Regions from separate parts of the Homo sapiens genome. Here region 1 is linked to region 2. The links are contacts of gene promoters, found by promoter capture Hi-C in human tissues and cell types (Jung and others, 2019). All regions are on one chromosome and are shown on one strand. Each heading gives the region's core, a stretch centred on a gene start or on the middle of the fragment in contact. The rest is flanking DNA. Distances are from core to core; before and after follow the strand shown. Region 1 has its middle 4.0 kb from the start of TRAPPC10. Region 2 holds the start of RRP1 (ribosomal RNA processing 1).

Region 1 (3,068 bases), core at 486-2,985, 220 kb before region 2:
CTGGGATGACGAGTACGAGCCACCGTGCCCAGTCAAGACCTTTTTAATGCCATTAACACTGAGGACATTGAGCTGAGACACTAGATTGAGAATCACATTCCCAGGGGTCAGCAAACGACCTATAAAGGGCCCAGATAAGTATTTTAGGTTGTGTGGGCCACATGCAGTTTTTGTTTCATATTTTTGCTTGTTTTTTTTTTTTTTTTAAACAACTCTTTAAAAATATAAAAGCCATTCCTGGCTTTAAGTGCTGTACAAAAACAGGCCATCAACACATGTGGCTTGTGAGCCAGAGGTTGCCAGTCCCTCCCCTAGAATAAGGACTACTCCAGGCCCGCCTTAACAACGTCTAAAGCAAAACCCTGACCCGATCCACAAGACGGTCAGAGTTTGGAGGTTAAGTCCTGCCAAGTAAGAGGGGCCTGGGAGACACCTGGGACATTGCTCAGTAAACAGAGCCTAAAGCTAAGCCTACACAGCCCAGCATGGTACGTCCAGTAATGGAACTACAAACTAGAACGAAAGTCAGGATTTTTCAGTGGAAGAGCACCCTGAGTCTCCCTCATTTGTTATTTATCAGTGTTGAATATACACTAAAAAAACAAAAATCACTAAACATACAAAGAAAGAGGAAAACGTAAGCCATAGTTAAGAAAAAAAAAAAGCAGTTAACAGAAACCAATCCCCCTACAATGAACCAGATTCTGTATTTACAAAGATTCTAAAGCAGCTCTACATATGTCCAAAGGAGGCTGGGCACGGTGGCTCACACCTGTAATCCCAGAAATTTGGGAGGCCGAGGTGGGCAGATCACTTGAGCCCAGGAGTTTGAGATCAGCCTGGCCAACATGGTGAAACCCCATCTCTACTAAAAACACAAAAATTAGCTGGGTGTGGTGGCGCACGCCTGTAGCCCCAGCTACTCGGAAAGCTGAAGCAGGAGAATCGCTTGAATCCGGGAGGTGGAGGTTACAGTGAGCCAAGATAGTGCCACTGCACTCCAGCCTGGGTGACAGAGCAAGACTCCATCTCAAAATAAATAAAAATAATATGTCCAAAGGATTAAATGAAAATATTGTCTTAATGAGTAAAGAATCAGAAATTCACAGCAGAATAACAAAGTATCTAAAAGAATCAAAAGAAAAGTCTAGAACTGAAAAGTACAATAACAGAAATGAAAATTTCACTGAATTGGATTAACAGATTGGAGAAAACAGGAGTTTGGGATCTTGAAGGCAGATGGATAGAAATTATTTAATCTGAAGAAGAGAAAAAAGTTGAAGAAAAGTGGAGAGAACCTCAGAGACCTATGGGACAGTATGAAATGGCCAAAAGCATGTGTGATCGGAGCTCCAGAAGGAGAGTATGAGTCTAGGAAGGAAACATTTTTGCAAAATGATGGCTCCAAATCCAAACACGTGGTGAAAAATACTGATTTACAGATCAAGAAATTCAGCAAAACCTGAAGAGAACACATACAAAGAAAATTACATGCAGGCATATCATACTCAAACTGGTGAAATAGATCAAGAGAAAAAAAATGTTTTGGTGGGGGGACAGGGTCTTGCTCTGTCGCCCAGGCTGGCGTGCAGGGGCACAGTCACGGCTCACTGTAGCCTCAGTCTTCTGGCTTCAAGCCATCCTCCCACTACAGCCTCCCAAGTAGCTGGGACCACAGGCACGTACCACCATGCCAGCTAATTTTTTAATTTTTTGTAGAGACGGCAGGGGGTCTTCCCCAGGCTGGCCTTGAACTCCTGACCTTAGGTGATCTGCCCACCTTGGCCTCCCAAAGTGCTGGGTTACAGGCATAAGCCACTGCACCCGGCCCTTCTCATAATTTCTTTAAGAGACCACTGACTGTTTAAAACAAACAATAGCTTGTGATACTTCTACAGTGTGTGTAGAAGTAAAAGGTAAGGACAGTGTGAAGGATGGATGGTGAGAGGTAACCCACTGATAAGCTCCTCACACTGTGAAGTGTGGAACTCCAGGTGTGAGGTGCAAGATGCAAAGGGTTATGTATGAAGAGGGAAGACTGAAGTGATACAATATTGACCCTACATTAAATTTGATATGTGAGGCATACGTAGTCTGTGCCCAGGAGAAAAAGCACTAGGGAAAAAATGAACAAAAGGGGTTTGGCTAAGAAGCCAATAAAGAAAAGAGAAATAATAGAAAATATCTGACTAATCCAAAAGAAGTCAGGGAAAGAACAACAGGAGAAAGACAGAAAGGACCAGTTATGTCAGGAAAAGACACTCAGCGCTCATTAGACATCAGGGAAATGCAAGTTAAAATGAAAATGAGATGCCACTTCACATGTACTCAAATCGATAAAATTTAAATTTATAATTAAAAACCCTGACGAGGCCAGGCACGGTGGCTCATGCCTGTAATCCCAGTGCTTTGGGAGGCTGAGGTGGGCCTCAGGAGTCAGGAGTCCGAGACCAGCCTGGCCAACATGGTAAAACCCCGTCTCTACTAAAAATACAAAAAATTAGCCAGGCGTGGTGGCGTGCACCTGTAATCCCAGCTACTTGGGAGGCTGAAGCAGGAGAATCGCTTGAACCCGGGAGGCGGAGGTTGCAGTGAGCCGAGATTGCACCACTGCGCTCCAGCCTGGGGAACAGAGCTAGACTCTGTCTCAAAAAACAAAAAATAAGTAAATAAAAAATAAAAACCCGACAATACCAAGTGTAGACTCCAAGCCGAGGAATATCTATGTCTTTGTACTGTTCTCACAGAGAACTGAGTCCAGCTGCTCTGAGAAGACAGACACTAGCCATTCCCCTTCCCGAAGACGTGGACACAGCGTTGTGCGGCTGGATGGGCTCCCACGTTAGGGAGTGTTCTTTCTGGAGGAAGGGAGGCAAAGGCAGAATCCCCTCCTCCAATCCCACCGGCTCTGGTCCAGGCAGCCTTTGGTGCGTGGGCAGTAAGTGGACTGCAAGCCTATTTTCCCTCTGAGCAGACCTATAAGAGATTTTTTTTTTCCACTTGGGAATTTAGAAAATGCTTGAATTCAGCACAAACACTGGTTTGGCACTTTCTTTTAATGAATCATG
Region 2 (2,946 bases), core at 11-2,510:
AGGCAGGATCACTTGAGGCCAGGAGTTCAAGACCAGTCTGGGCAACATAGGAAGACCCCAATTTGTACAAAAAATACAAAACTTAGCTGGCCTGGCCGCACGGTGCCAGTAGTCCCAGCTATTGGGGAGGCTGAGATGGGAGGCTCACTTGAGCCTGGGAGGTAGAGGCTGCAGTGAGCTGTAATCGTGCCAATGCACTCCTCCACCACGGATGACAGTGAGGTCTGTCTCACTCAGAAAAATAACAAAAAATTTTAATTTAAAACATTACTCAGTTGACATTCACTGAAGTCCTATGTGTCTGGCAACCTGTTCCTGCAGCAGTGGTTCTCAGGCTGAGTGTGGGGAGCAGAAGCACTTGAACAGCTTCATAAAGCAGATGCCAGTCCTGATTTAGTAGGGCTGGGATCCTAGAACTTGCATTTCTTTCTTTTCTTTTGCGATGGAAATGGAGTCTTGCTATGTTGCCCAGGCTGGACTCCTGGGCCTTTGTGATCCTCCCACATCGACGTGCCAAGTAGCTGGGATTACAGGCTTGGGCCACTGCGCCCGGCATAGAACGTGTATTTCTAACAAATGTCCAGGGGATGCTACTGCTGATGGGGGACCACGCTCGGAGAACCACCTGGTACCATGAACAAGAAGTAGATTCTCGGCCCTCAGAGAGGTACTCTCGAGTGGAAATCGGAAAACAATCCAATAATTAACGCAAAACAGAAAACTGCAAACAGTGGGAAATGCTGCCATGAGGGAAAAATACTGGGTGCCCAAACAGCAGGGCAGCAGGAGTACATGGTCTACTGGAGGGAGGGGACGCCTGAGCTAGGAAAGGGGTTACGGGGCTGGGGAGGAGCGTTCTCGCAGAGGGACCAGAGTCACCGCACCACGAGGGAAAGCGGCGGCGGGGGCCGTGGGCCGGTAACAGCGGGAACAGGCCAGTGGACCCCGCCTGCCCGGCCCGGCCACGTGGAGGTTCCACAGGGCTCGGAGGGCCCCCAGCTCCGGCCGCCGCCGCCCACACCCGCACCAGCCCAGCCGGCCCCCGAGACGCCAGCCGCCCACACCCCCGCCAACCTGCGGCCCGCTGAGTCCTGGCGACGATGTATTTCCGGAGCTTCCTCACCGCCCGGTCCCGGGTCACCTGCTCATTCCCCGCCAGGCGCTGAGCCAGCTGGATCTCAGGCGGGAGCTGCACGCGCGAAACCATGACGCCGACGGCCGAGACCCCCTGTCCCGGAGTCGCCTGGTACCCAGCACACTGAGCACGCGCCTCCTGCGCCCGCCTCCTCCTGGCCCCGGCGCGTGGCGTGACGTCACAGCCCGCGACACCGCCCAGGCGCACGCCACCGCCGCGCAGTGGCCGAGCCGCGCAACTGCAGCCCCCGGAGGCCGAAGGCTACAGAGGGGGCGCGCGCTCCCTGCCTGTGCGCATGGGCGGAACCAGCGAGCGCGCGCCTGCGCCTGCGCCTGCGCCTCGCTGGGGCTGCGGTGGGTCGGGATTCTGAGGCAAAGATCTGTTGTTTTTTAATCTCATTTTATTTATAACCCCACTTGTATTTTTTTCCTGAGACAGGGTCTCGCTCTGTTACCCACGCTGGAGTGCAAGGCGCGATCTCGGCTCACTGCAGCCTTTGCCTCGCGGGCTCCAGGGATCCCCCAGCCTCAGCCTCCCGAGGAGCTGGGACCACGGGCGCCACCACTCTCGGCTCGAAACTTTATTTTTAAAACCAGGGGTGTGCCGGGCGCGGTGGCTCACGCCTGTAATTCCAGCACTTTGGGAGGCTGAGGCGGGTGGATCACGAGGTCAGGAGTTTGAGACCAGCCTGACCAACATGGTGAAACCCTGTCTCTACTAAAAATACAAAAATTAGCCAGGCGTAGTGGCGGGCGCTTGTAATCCCAGCTACTCAGGAGGCTGAGGCAGGAGAATTGCTTGAATCCGGGAGGCGGAGGTTGCAGTGAGTCGAGATTGCGCCGCTGCACTCCAGCCTGGGCGACAGAGTGAGACTCTGTCTCAAAAAACAACAACAAAAAAAAAAACGGGGAGGCTGCATTTGGCCTAGGGCCACAGTTTGACATACCCTGAAGTAGAAAAATATTCTTTATTTTTAGAAATAACTGCAGAACTCTTTGGTAAAGGTGACCTGTCATGATGTCTGTAATTCATTCTGCAAAAAAGTAAATCATTACACGCACATATGTGTATGCAGATAAGCAACTATGGCACACTGTTAACAGTTGTGGCGTTGGCCGGGCGCGGTGGCTCACGCCTGTAATCCCAGCACTTTGGGAGGCCGAGGCGGGCGGATCATGAGGTCAGGAGATCGAGACCATCCTGGCTAACACGGTGAAACCCCGTCTCTACTAAAAACACAAAAAATTAGCTGAGCGTGGTGGCGGGCGCCTGTAGTCCCAGCTACTCAGGAGGCTGAGGCAGGAGAATGGCGTGAACCCCGGAGGCGGAGCTTGCAGTGAGCCGAGATCGCGCCACTGCACCCCAGCCTGGGTGACAGAGTGAGACTCCGTCTCAAAAAAATACAAGTGTGGCGTCTACAGGCAGGAATACAGGTCTTCATTGACCTATCTTCTGACATTTTCTATGTATGAAATTTTTCATAAAAAGTTGAAAAGGCTGGCAGTGGTGGCTCATGCCTGTAATCCCAACCATCACTTGGGGAGGCCAAAGCAGGTGGATCACCCGAGGTCAGGAGTTCGAGACCATCCTGGCCAACATGGTGAAACCCCATCTCTACTAAAAATACAAAAATTAGCTGGGTGTGGTGGCGAGCACCTGTAATCCCAGCTACTCGGGAGGCTGAGGCAAGAGAATTGCTTGAACACAGGAGGCGGAGGTTGCAGTGAGCCAAGATCCGGCCACTGCACTCCAGCCTGGGCGACAGATTTTGAAACTCTGTCTAAAAAGAAAAAAAAAAGGAAACATTTAGC

The links. Contacts are between HindIII fragments. The study calls those that stand out against the background at their distance.
Region 1: a fragment that was not itself captured here is called in contact with the fragment with the promoter of RRP1 in region 2 in 1 of the 25 tissues and cell types used here (dorsolateral prefrontal cortex).

Annotation. Positions count from the first base shown.
Region 1 is chr21:44,006,727-44,009,794 of GRCh38, reverse strand. No RefSeq gene overlaps it. Among named protein-coding and RNA genes, the nearest start is that of TRAPPC10, 4.0 kb to the left of the region's middle. The HindIII fragment of the contact is 5,883 bases long and covers 1-3,068 here.
Region 2 is chr21:43,787,891-43,790,836 of GRCh38, reverse strand. RRP1 (ribosomal RNA processing 1) reads right to left here and starts at 1,260. Exons shown (of 13, transcript NM_003683.6): 1 at 1,075-1,260. The coding sequence starts at 1,207. RefSeq lists silencers at 850-1,019, 1,230-1,459 and an enhancer at 1,090-1,199. The HindIII fragment of the contact is 35,062 bases long and covers 1-2,946 here.